Linked DNA regions of Homo sapiens: all the other regions are linked to region 3. Evidence: promoter capture Hi-C in 16 types of primary human blood cells and fetal thymus (Javierre and others, 2016). All regions are on one chromosome and are shown on one strand. Each heading gives the region's core, a stretch centred on a gene start or on the middle of the fragment in contact. The rest is flanking DNA. Distances are from core to core; before and after follow the strand shown. Region 1 overlaps SIK3 (SIK family kinase 3). Region 2 overlaps SIK3 (SIK family kinase 3). Region 3 holds the start of PCSK7 (proprotein convertase subtilisin/kexin type 7).

Region 1 (4,123 bases), core at 436-2,935, 270 kb after region 3:
TAAAAATTGAATTAAATTGAGCTCCTAGAATATAACTTTTGAGACCTTATTTGAGATTTTCTCCCAAGGCAATGTTTGAGCATTGAGAGCCTTGTAACTTGGGCCAGGTTTCTGTGAGATAGACAGTTGGCAATTCTCAATATCAAGTCAATGATTTCAGAAGTCATTTTCAAGGAATACGTCCTTTAACTGGTAGATTAATTATGTAGCCTGTTGGCATTATGTGGATCAGTGCCGTCCAAGAGAAAGAGGGCACATATATTATTTACAATTTTTAAATAATCATATTAAAAAAGTAAAAAGTGGTGAAATTAGTTTTAATATCTTTTGTTTAGCCTAATATATCTAAAATATTATAATTTCCACATGTAATCAATATAAAAATGTATCAGGGAGATAGTTTAATTCTTTTTTATATTACTATCTTTGAAATCTGGTATATATTTTACATTTATAGCGCATCAGTCTGGATAGTTACACGTGGCTGGTGCCTACTGTATTACACTGTACAGATCTAGATCATAAAATAGTTGTAGAGCTGAGCCGAGAATGTTCTAGAGTAGATAAGCTTTGTCATAAAAATAGAGAATAAAAATTTTGCTACAGAAGTTAGTATAAAAACATAACCCCATTGAAAAAAGCTTACAATGACAAAATGTTTGATATCTGCCTAAATTCTAAAGACATTTCTAAAAGAAATAGAGCTCTTTCCTTAAAACAAATTTTTTAAAAAAATAAGCTTTTCTTCAAACTGTAATGTTTTCTCTTTCCTTCTAAAAAGCATGCAGTCTGCTCACTATATTCTTTGAAATTACTGTATGTTCATCTGCATACCAGTGTAAGGAGATCCTCTTTCTCGTCTTGGAAGAATTTGAGCCCTTGTGATCTTTGCATTTCCCTCCTACGTAGTTCTTTCTTGAACTGTCCATTTGTCCTGGCATATCCCTGAATCCGTACTATCTGCTATAGGGCATTTATTTCTGATGGGGAAGGGTGGTTTGTTTTGATCTTAATGCTGAACTGTCCCTTAGTTCATTGTCTTTTACTCTGTTGCCGTATCTTGCTTACAAATATGGTGTCAGAATATGCAAGTGAATTTATTGCCTGTTGTGAAGAAACCACTATTTTTTTCAGCTTCATTCACTATGAACATTATTGTGCTTACAAAAGTGAGTTGAGTTAAAAAGAACTGTGTTTTTTAGAAGTGAGAATTAAAAGGGAGAAATAGTAATTTTTCCTCTCATAGAATGAATAATAAAGAACTATGACTTTAAATTTGGCATGATCTAAATTTAATTTTTTTCCTACCACATGCCAATTGAAACAGAAGAATTTGTTGAATGGGAATGTCTTGAGTAGGGAAATTAAGGACTCTCACAATCTGTTATCTCTTTAGTAGCATACTTGATACAGTGTCATGTTTAATTAATATTAGAATGTCAATTTACAAAATCATGCTCTTTGGAAGATAAAAGAATTCTGTGTAGAACAGGCAAACTTAGGAAATATATGGTCTCTTGGTAACATGTTGGAAGTTTTCTGCTTTGTTATAATTTTCATATGTAAGTACAATTAGGAGATTTATAGATTTTCAACCCCAATATAATAACATTCTTTGAGAGTTTATCTTTTCTTTACCTACTGATTTACCTTTGTTGTGGACACATTCAGTTTTTCAAGCAACTGGTGTGTACTTTACACCAAAACCTTTATTATATAGTCTTCAGTAATCTGTAGCTGTGAAACTCATACTCATTTATCTGTTTAGATATTCTCAAAACAATCATACCTGTGTGCCAGCCACCTGCTGTCTGACTTGGCAGTTTCTCTGTTCCAACTTTATTTTTCTGCTTTTTAGAAAACTCCCACTTTCCAGTTTGCAGCTAAGGTAGGAGCTGAGTTCCTTTCCCTGTTAAGTGGTCTTATCAGGCAGTTATGCCATTGCCAAGCAACAGTAAGTTCTCTCCTCTCAGGTGTTAGCTAGTAGGTAGGGTTGGCAAGGGGAGCCTGGCCTGCTGTGAAGAAGTAGACCAGTGTCTCTCTGCCACAGCCCTCAGGGTCGGGTCTTGCTGTGGGTTCCATCCTATGGCTCACTGTGACTTTCCTGAATGGAATGCGTTTATTTTTTTTCCAGCTCTGTTCTTTCCATGTTCTTCCCACATCAGCTGGCGGCAGCCAGTTGGTTCTGAATGCTGCCCACAAATTGTTAGCTATTTTGCTTCTTGGTCCCTCAATTTGTCCCTTGAATAAGGAATTGATGTGTTTCAGATCCAGGATTATGTTGCTTAGTGAAGCAAATCTAATCCTTGCCAAGGAATGCCTAAAGTTGAAGGCTTGATTCCAGAAGAAAATAAAATAACAACAGCACTACCTGTAATTAACATATATTGCCTGTTTACTGTGCCAGGCATTATATTAATCAGGTTGCATGTATTAGCTTTGTTAATCCCCAAAATCACTTTAAAGTAGGTTCCATTGTTGCCCACATTTTACAGATAGGGAGCCATTGGAAAATTAAGTAACCTGTTCTAGGTTATATATTAAGGGATAGTTCCAAGATTTTGAATCTAAGTAGCTTGTCTTCAGAGTCCTTGCTTTCAGTACTATATTCAACTGCTAAATAAAGCTTCACTTTGGTTTTTTTGTTTTGTTTTGTTTTTTTGTTTTGGAGAAAGTGTCTCATTCTGTTGCACAGATTGCAATGCAGTGGCGTGATCACGGCTCACTTCACCCTTGCTAGGCTCATGCAATCCTTCTGTCTCAGCTTCCTGAGTAACTGGGACTACAGGCACACACTACCACACCTGGCTAATTTTTTTATTTTTTGTAGAGATGAGGTCTCACTTTGTTGCCCAGGCTGGTCTTGAACTCCTCGCCTCAAGCCATCCGCCTGCCTTTAACTCCCAAAGTGCTGGAATTACAGGCGTGAACCACCGTGCCTGGCCCAAAGCTTCACTTTTCAATGTCTTCTGGAATCTGAACTCTCACTGAAGAGTAGACAGGAGTTTGATGTTTTAATCTATTAAAACTTCTTTGTACGTGCCTTCTAAGAACAGATTATATTCAATGCAATTTTTCCTGAAAAGATGAAGTACATTTGTTTGTAAAATTCATGTATGTATGTATTTATTTATTATAGTACATATTTATGGGGTACATTTGATATTTTGCTGCATGGATACAACATGTAATGATCAAATCAGGGTAATTAGGATATCCATTACCCCAAACATTTATCATGTCTTTCTGTTGGTGACATTTCAAATCTCCTTCAGCCATTTTGAAATATGTAATAAATTATTGTTAATTATAGCCAACAAAAGGCATTATTGCTAGTACAGATATTTCTTGACTTATGATGGGTTACGTCCCAATAAACCCATTATAAGTTGAAAATATGGTAAGTCAGAAATGCATTTAATTCACTCTATTGTTATCTACCCACGTGATTGTGTGGCTGACTGGGAGCCACACAATCTCTGTTTACCATTATGAAGATCCTATTGCTTCAGAATGCAAATGAAATTTAGAGTGAGTGCCTTGTGAATCAGGGAGGCCCCACTATATGACTCCCTGTGATCTCTTGGAGGTGAAAGAATGCACAAATTTCATAAGTTAACCTGAAGGTCACCCGCTTTTCCCCAGTTACATTGTACATGCCATCAATTAGTAGGGGGTGGGCAGAGGTGGAAGATTTCAGGCACAGGCCTTAGACAGTTGATGCCCTCTGTTATTAAGGTAAATAAATCCTAGCAGTTCTTCCCACCTTTTGCACATCATGGCATGCACAGAAAGTTGAGATTGGAGGTGATCCATTATTGCTTGTAACCCATTTCCAACACACTTGTTTGGAAGTTCTTTTTTTTTCTTTTGAGACAGGGTCTCATTCTGTTGCTGGCACGATCATAGCTCACTGCAACTTCAGCTCCCGGGATCAAACTGTCCTTCCACCTCAGCCTCCTGAGTAGCTGGGACTACAGACACATGCTACCATGCTCGGCTAATTTTTAAAAAGTTTTTTAGTAGAGATGGGGTTTCACCATATTGCCCATGCTGGTCTTGAACTCCTGGACTCAATCAGTCTGCCCTCCTTGGCCTCCGAAAGTGCTGGGATTACAGCTGT
Region 2 (4,299 bases), core at 1,617-4,116, 300 kb after region 3:
GGTCGCCGACTGTATGATTCTGTTTATATAGTGTTCTTAAAATGATGAAATTACATAAATGGGAAACAGATTAGTGGTTTCTAGGAGTTAGGGATGGTGGGGCATAGAGGAACAAGCATGACTGTGTAGGGGTAGTGCAACGGAGATCTTTGTGGTGGTGAAATATTTTTGTATCTTTTTTTGATACAAAAAATTGAACAGGGGAAAGGCAAGATCCGTTTACACATGCAGGCATATATGTGAGAGTACTCAGTAATGACTGAGTCCGAATAGTTGTAATTGCTATTGTAGTAATTGCAGTTGTTGTTCCACAAATCTACACATGTGATAAAGTGACATAGAACTATACATACGCATTGTACCCATGTCAAATTCTGGGTTTTGATATCGTTCTATAATTATATAAGATTTAACCATTGGCGGAAACTGGGCGAAGGGTACACGGGACCTCTCTGCACTGTCTTTGCAACTTCCTGTGAATCTATAATTATCTCAAAATAAAAAGTTTTTAAAAAAAGATTACTACCTTGGCTGCTCTTTTGAGGAGTAATCCTAGGAGGTTATTGCAGAAATCTAGGAGTGAGGTAGTTGCTGTTAAATGAGGCTGGTGGCACTAGAGTGGAGTGAAGGCAGGGGTGAGAAATAGTTGGATTCTGAATATGATTTGAACGTAGAGTTAATAGAATTTGCTGATGGATAGGATGCAGGGTGTGAGAGAAAGAGAAGAATGAAAGATGCCATAAAAGTTTTTGGCCTGGTCAATGGAGGAGCAAAGAAAAGAGATAGTAACAAGAAGCAGCAACAAGTCAAGAAGCCCGGTAAGAGGTAGTTGGATTCTTGGCAAGAAAGACAAAATGACAAACCCTCTTCCTCTAGTCAGTGGCAGCCACGCCTGGGAGTTAGAGGACAATAGGATATTAAAGTGACTGCACTCTTATTAACCTGCTTAGGGGGAGCTGAGTTATCTTGGCCTCGCCCTGCTTTTTTGGAAAGAAGCGTTTGTTTGATAAACAGGAAGTCGTTTCCATGGGTGTAGGAAGAAGAAATGATAGAACTGAGTGGCAAAGCAAAGAACTACTAGCTGTGGTTAGTTTGGAATTGGCAGAAGTTTTTTCAGGTAGTCACCTAAGATGAAGATGAGCACACATACTGCCTTTTCCCTTTTCTAGGCTGGGTTCATTCTTCACTGAAATGTGGTATTTCTGCCTATTGCTTGTCCTGCTGTCAGGGTATGTTCATTTTCAGCTAGTGTTTTGCATCAACTATGAGTTGTAGACTTAGCAGACAAATGGAGACACTGTCTGTTTAGAGTGGAAAAGTGACTTATTTTAAGAAATGTTGGCTCCGCACCACTATCCCATTAGTGGCATACCTCTGACACTCCATTGAAGCTGGCCTAGGGAAGGTAAGACTGGCTTCTGTGTATTTTTGCTCTTTGAAAGGTCAGAACCTAAATGTACCACAAGATATTTTCTTCCTGAGTAAGATTGGGACAAAATTACAAACAGTGAATTCTGAAGCAAACTTACGTGCTGGTGCTCTAATACTTTAGAAAATTCAAAATCGATTTCCTGTACTTCTAACAATATTACTCTTCGTCGGGTATGTAAATCTCTTAGTGTCACTTACTTCTTTTCATTTTGCAAGGAAGGGCAGACCAAAAAGATTAAAGAAGACCAATGCCAAGTCATGGTCATGGGAAAGTGAGAAAGAGAATTTAAAAGTACTTTTTACTTTTTTTTACTTTGTTTTACTTTTTACTTTTGAAAAGCACTTGAAACAGGAGAACCATTTTTTTTCCTTTTAACCGAGAGTCACCTCATCCCTGTCTGGGTACATGTTTGGAGTGAAATTGTGGTCAAAGAAAACTTTAAATTTGTCCCAGACCTATAATGGCAACTAAATAGATAAGTAGTTGATTGATGGTGAAAAAAGCTTAGTGTGATGGACTTGACTTTATGCAGCAGGTGTCTACTTGAGGTTTGTTTAGATTGGTGGGGGTGGGGAGGGGGCAGGACTCTAGCTAGGGGCATGGCTGCAGTGTGGATGATTGGGATGAGGATATGGGTAGTATTTGTGTCTCAGTATTTAGGAGAGGTAGTTCACTGAATTGCCTGGAAGAAGCAGAACAACTCTGGAGTTCCTTGCAATTGGAGTTTATCCTGACAAGGTTCAACGTACATTTTACTTTGCGTATTGAGTGGATTCAGGAGCCATTTGGTTTCATTTGCCTTCTGAAAGTACTGCAGTATTTGTAAAAATGCTGTGACTATGTGTTAAGTCCAGGCTGGTCTACAGCTCTGGATTTCTTCACTGAAAGTTAAATATCACATTTGAACTTGAAGAATGTTTGCTGCCTGCCTCTAGAGCATATACGAATATAAAGCAGCTATTTGTCAGCAGGCAGCTGAAAGGCGATTTTCAGCAGGGAGTGAAAACCACTGCAGGCTGCTGGCTTCCTGGCACACCCACTAGACCTCGTAGGTTTACAGTGAAAGCAAACCAATGGGAGTAGGGGTTGGGGGGATAAGATGGGCAAAAATCAGGGCAGAGGCTGAGGTCTGAATGCGATTGAGCCACTGGAAGGAGCTTGCATGTGAAGAGCACAGTGCTCCCAAAGAGAAGAAAACTTGAACCCTAAACACAATGGCTAGGAGCAAATATCTAATGTGAACACTTTAAAAAAAAAAAGTGATTTGTTCCGTAAGTGTATTTAGAGTCCAGGGGAAAAAAAAAAGTGATTTGTTTATCTTCTTTGTATCTATAACTATAGGGGTACTGAAGGTAACTTTGGGGAAAGTATTATAGTTTAAGCTGTACTACCCAGTGCGCTGTTACAGCTACCTTTTAACCAGAACCATTAACAGTGACAATCGATGTGTAGAAAATCACCTTTAAGCTCTGCAGAATCCTGAAGGACTTTGTGCTCTATTGACTAGATGTTTAAGTATTCCCTATATAGTATTCAGTGGACCTTTTCAAAAATGTCTTTTGCAACATCTTTGAAAGTGAAAGTTTTAACGTATGATACTCTTAATCAGAGTACACGTTTATTCCCAAATATTCTGTTCTTTCTTTGGGTATAGCATGCAACAGAGTTTACTTGTATTTAGAAGATCAAGAGGTGGGGGTATTGGCAGGATAAATGATTTGTCCAGGGACAACTGATGTGTCACTGTAGAGATAAAACAGAACTAGGCTGCATTCCAGCAGCTTCTGGCCCGTATAACAGTTTTGAGAACTTTCCAATCACTTTAGGAAAACAAGGTACTTAGAAATTTATAAAGACTTTCTTAATAAAAGAAATCACTTATTTTGGAAATTGTGAAATTAATCATTCTGCAGCATTTAAGAAGCACTTTGATGTGTTCTGGTAATTAGTATTTACTGCCAGACAAATGTCTCTTGGGCATTTTAATTAATGGGTAGCTTGGCCAAATGAGCTTCTGATGGTAAACCTTCATAAGGGTTTATTTTTATGTTTCTCAAGAATAGCTGTCTCTTCAAAGCTCTTTAATTAGACAAGGTTTAGCAACTAAAACATATTATTAGAATAATTAGGCCTTGGGTTAAGAGAAATAGGGGGTCAGAGGAGCAGGTACTGTTAGAAAATGGCCTCTTAAAACATAGCATTCTACCTCTGATGGATGGCCAGTTCTTTCACAGCTTCTGTTAAGTTACTCTCCCTAGTTTGGACTTCGTGTTGTTTAAAGTTCATAGCAGACCTCACCGGAAGCCTAAACACACCCGAGTGGGAGCTTACTTATCCCCACCTCTGACCTCCCAGGGAAAGCTTGATTCTAGTCCTTTTAACTGCTAAGTGGAAGACTTCTTATTTTCTCCTTTTTCTTCTATTAAATCGATAATCTTGGCTATAACAATGACTTGTATTTTTGAGGGAGATGCTTCAAAAGCCTTGTGTGTGGCGAACAAAAATTACAATAATTCCTTTGAGGATCTTTCTTAATGATTTATATTATCTACATATAAGATATGTTCTTAAAGTGACTACAGTATTTGCATTCCAGAATGTTATATTTCTTGTGGTCAGAATGCAGTTTGAATTATTTTGCAATCTGCTCTGTAGATGGGCTGGCATCTAACTCCCCTTCTTCAACCTTCTCCCCTACCATTTCTTGCCACAAGCGCTCAGTCTTGGCAGTTATTGCTAGTAAATATGTGCTACCCTGAACTTCCTCTTTGTGGTGAAGGAAAGATACACCTGACTGGTCCTGTGAGGGAGTGAGATGTCACCAAAACAATTGTGTATTCTACCAAAACTGTTGATAAATCACAATA
Region 3 (3,869 bases), core at 479-2,978:
GCCTGTAAGTCAACAAGTAATGCAATACTGGGCAATCCAGGGTGCATATTTTACTGTCAGCGTGCTCCCCACAGATGGGAAAGGCCTGATACCCACTAACTGAGCAAAGAACAGACTCTTCAGAGTGACTAGTGGTGCAAAAAAGAATCCTGGGTTCTCTAGCGTGAAAAAGTCAAGGTAAAAAACATGGTAACACAAGTAAGGGAACTGGGACGGACGCCTTTTTTAAAAATCAAAAGGTCATCTTTTATGCCGCAGAGCAAACTTATGACCTTATGAGGAGAAAAGAAAATCAAAATACTTGGGAGGTGGGGATGAACATCGGGTTAGTTTGCATTCTTGCTTTTATTTTAACAGCATCACACGTATTCCCCCCCGGAACACTGAAGAGCGCATAGGGCAGATAGGTAGATGGGGCTGTGTCAACACCTCAGTCACAGCCCACAGACCCTCTGTGCCTCAGTTTCCCTCATTATACAAAGCTCCTGGGAGAAAATGGGCCCAAACCGCCATTGCTGCTCCCTCAGGTGCAAACATCCCGTCTCCAACATAGCCCAGGGCTGGGGGGTCCTCTGCGCCCGGTGAACGAAACCCCAGGACAAGGGCCATGCATGCAACTCCGTGGCTAGAGAGCCCGTGGCGCGGGTAGGAACAGCTGGCTGGAGGGTCGAGTGTACCAAAAAGAACTCCGCAACCCGGGGCGACCACCAGCGAAGCAGGGGCGCCGGAGCCACGGGTCCTCGGGCGAGAACAGGGGACAGACGGGAAGGGGACAATGGGGGGAAGCGGCGCTGGGTGGCCTTGGCCACCCCCCACAGGGGACTGCTAGGCTGGCCGCTGGCTCGGACCAGACCCCCCTCCACCCCTTCCCCTCGGTCCCCCCACCCCGCTGCCAGCCACCCCCCCGTCCCACTTCTAGGCCGGGACCCCCGCCTCGGTTCTCACAGCACCCTCCACGCCCCCCACCCGACCCCCATGCCCGGCCCTCGCCCCGCAACCCCCACCCACGCTCGCCCCGCACACACCTCCCGCGCCGCGCCCCCGGGAGGAAAGTGGGGGAGGGACGGGACGCACCTGAGCGGGCGGAGCGGGGGGAGGGGGCGGCCGAGCCACGGGGGGAGGGGTCGAGCGCCGGCCCGCGCGCGGCACCTCCCACTTCCGGCGGCACGAGCGGAGGGGGCGAGGCTCCGGCCGCGAGAGGAGAGGCCGCGGTGGCGCCGCGCCGCCCCCGACGGCGCCCTCTGGCGGCGACAGCTGGCGCCGCCGGGGCACGGGGATGCTGCGGGAGACCCCTGAGATACAAGTGGACTCTCCCGGGGCGCGGGGAAGAAGGGAGAGCCGACTGCGAGAAGGAAGGCGACCTGGGTGGGCAGGATCCCCTCTGGGAAGATTACAGGGACAGTCGGGGCCATGGCGGTCAGAAGGAGAAGAGCAACGAGTGGCTTTTAAAGGTCGGAACCGAAATGCCCTTTACAGAGGACGCCATGAAGGAGAGCCTTCTGAAGAGGGACCATGTGGAAGATGCCCCGAGGACTCGGGGAGGCGGAGCCCGCGGGTTCAGCCCCCAGCGCCCGCACGGCCCCTGCCTGCGTAGGCCGCCCGCGGGAGCCGGACCCCGGGCGCCGGTTGCTGTGGCCCGCGGGGGTCGCCGGGCCGCAGGCGCCGCGCTGATTGGCTGCGCCGCGGGCGGAAGTGATGCTGCTGTCACTGCTCCTCCGGCTCCCGGGAAGCCGCGAGTTTCCGCAGGGAGGCGGCGGCAGCTGCGGCGGGGCCGGTGAGTTGGGAACTAGGTGTGGGGCTGGACCTGGGTGGTCAGGGGGCCCCAGAAGTGGGGGAAGCCGGCGTCTGAGGATGAGGGAGCTGCACAGAGGGTGCCTGAGGTCCTGGCGTGGGGGACCAAGGAGATGGGGCCCCAGGGCCCAGAATTCCTGGATAATGTGGGTGCTAATGAGGAGAGGGGCACATTGCACGGAGCGATCGAGGCCGACGGAGGGAGAATCGGGAAACTGACCCGGTACCCAAGCTGGCTTCTAGGAGCCGGGTGTGGAACAGCGAGGACAGTAGCTTGGGAGCAGGATCTTGGACTCCAGGCTGCCCATTCTCTTCTTCCTTGTCAATTAAGAGCTGTAAAGGGAGGCCTAGCCGTTGGGAGAGGTTGAGACCTGCTTTCAGAAGGCATTTAAGGTTCCTTTCCCAGAAGCCTGGGGGATAAAAATGCTGCTTTGCCACTAGTAGACAGAAGGAGCTCCTGCTTCTCTTTCTTCCTGACATCTGTGGTGGGATCTACTGAGTCTGAAGGAGTCTGCCTAGCGGGGCCACTGTCTGGCTAACAAGGGTTTTGTTTGTTAGTTTGTTTACTTAGTAGAGTATGCAGACTGGGGAAGACACCTAAATATCTTGGGAGAATTGAGGCTCCCGGGGGCAGGGAGGGATTGAGAGGGAATATGCCTGGAAACCTAAGAGAAAACGAGAGGAAGAAATGTAGTATGAAGATTTTTAGAGGTAAAGGAGAGGTGGCATAAGTTCTCCTTTCCAGGAAGCCTTTCAGTAAAATTCCCATTTTTCTGGAATGCTTTGAGGTAGAGCCGCTTGGGTGTGTATCTGAGTACTAAGCCCTGCCCCAGGGTGGACCCAGTGGAGAGCAAAGGCTTTTAAAGGAGCCCAGCCACCATAGGTACACACATGTCCTGCCACCCCATTTGTCTGTCCCCCAGTTCTAACTTGGCTCTTTTTTTTTTTTTTTGAGGGCTCCTGAGACCAATTCCCTGGTTCTGTCAAACCCAGGCAATTGGAGTCCCAGTCTGGAGTCTGAGTCCTCACCTTGAAGCCAGCCTCCTGAGCTCAGTACAGGAGTAGCTGCTTAGTGAGGTTCTCTCATCATTCGTTCTCTCCTGGTTGCCCGCTTGTCCTTGGTGCCTGTTCTGTTTTGTTTGCACTCTCTGGCTTTCCCCGTTTCGCCCCCGCCGCCTCCCTCCTTTCACTTTCCCTGGTATCCTTCTGGGATATACAAATCAAGAAGTTAGCTACCACCTGGACTTCTAGGACGTTATTACCTACTCTTTCAAGAGGCATTTTGGTAACTGTTTTTTGCTAGGCCTCTGGGGAACAAAATGAAAAGAGGGTGGCACGATAGCACAGGAAGTGGGTTTTTTGGGTGTTATACTGATTTGGCCTCACCGTACCAGTTCTGCTCCAGTCTATGACCGATTTTAGATCTTTGGAAATGACAATTAATGAAGTTTCTTTGGTCCCTGGTCCTGGAGTTTATCTAACCTCAGCTTGTTGCCCTGGGATTGGTGGGACATTATTTCTTCTGTTCTTGGATCCCACAGGTCTGTAGCCTTTGCTGAGTCAACACTACTCACAGTGAAAGTGATGCCTTTTCTCCATTTGCACAACATGAGTGTGACGTGGTTAGCCAGACCAGGAGCTCAACCTCATGTAGAATCCAGGTGGGCACGGGGCCCTGTTATGGGGAATTAGCCTTGAGGACAACTGGACTGAGGAGTCAGCTAGGGAAAGATTTATGTCCCCTCTAAATGTAGGGGTGAAGGGGTTGTCTCTGCTAAAGAACAGTCACGATGCAGCCAGTAGTTTGTGGAAGCGATGTGTGCTTTGAGCCCTGTGGGTGGCAACAGGGGTTGCTCGCAGTGCCTGTGAGCAACTGGACCTCCTGCTGGATTAGCTGGTGTCGTGAGGATTGGCTGTCTTGCTGTGGGAGGCCATCCGCTGGTGTTAGTGCTGGCCCACACTCCACCTGGGGGCTTATCCCTGTTGGTCAGGGATAAATGTGAACAAAAAGAGAAGATCAAATGTTTCACAATTTAAAAGGCATGGCTTAGGGACTTCCAGGGGGAACACATGGATGG

The links. Contacts are between HindIII fragments. The CHiCAGO score rates a contact against its expected background, and 5 or more counts as called.
Region 1: a contact is called between a fragment that was not itself captured here and the fragment with the promoter of PCSK7 in region 3, in 3 of 17 cell types (naive CD4 T cells, M2 macrophages and naive B cells). The highest score is 5.4, in naive CD4 T cells.
Region 2: a fragment that was not itself captured here is called in contact with the fragment with the promoter of PCSK7 in region 3 in 3 of 17 cell types (naive CD4 T cells, erythroblasts and M2 macrophages); the score reaches 6.6 in naive CD4 T cells.

What each region holds. Positions count from the first base shown.
Region 1 is chr11:116,959,066-116,963,188 of GRCh38, reverse strand. All of the region lies in intron 1 of SIK3 (SIK family kinase 3), which reads left to right. Among named protein-coding and RNA genes, the nearest start is that of APOA1, 120 kb to the right of the region's middle. The HindIII fragment of the contact is 1,887 bases long and covers 742-2,628 here.
Region 2 is chr11:116,928,478-116,932,776 of GRCh38, reverse strand. All of the region lies in intron 3 of SIK3 (SIK family kinase 3), which reads left to right. Among named protein-coding and RNA genes, the nearest start is that of APOA1, 93 kb to the right of the region's middle. The HindIII fragment of the contact is 1,858 bases long and covers 1,938-3,795 here.
Region 3 is chr11:117,229,932-117,233,800 of GRCh38, reverse strand. It overlaps PCSK7 (proprotein convertase subtilisin/kexin type 7), which reads left to right and starts at 1,728. Exons shown (of 17, transcript NM_004716.4): 1 at 1,728-1,774; 2 at 3,333-3,452. RNF214 (ring finger protein 214) reads right to left here and starts at 1,130. Exons shown (of 15, transcript NM_207343.4): 1 at 1,075-1,130. RefSeq lists silencers at 991-1,330, 1,541-1,690 and enhancers at 1,881-1,930, 2,800-3,039. The HindIII fragment of the contact is 17,537 bases long and covers 1-3,869 here.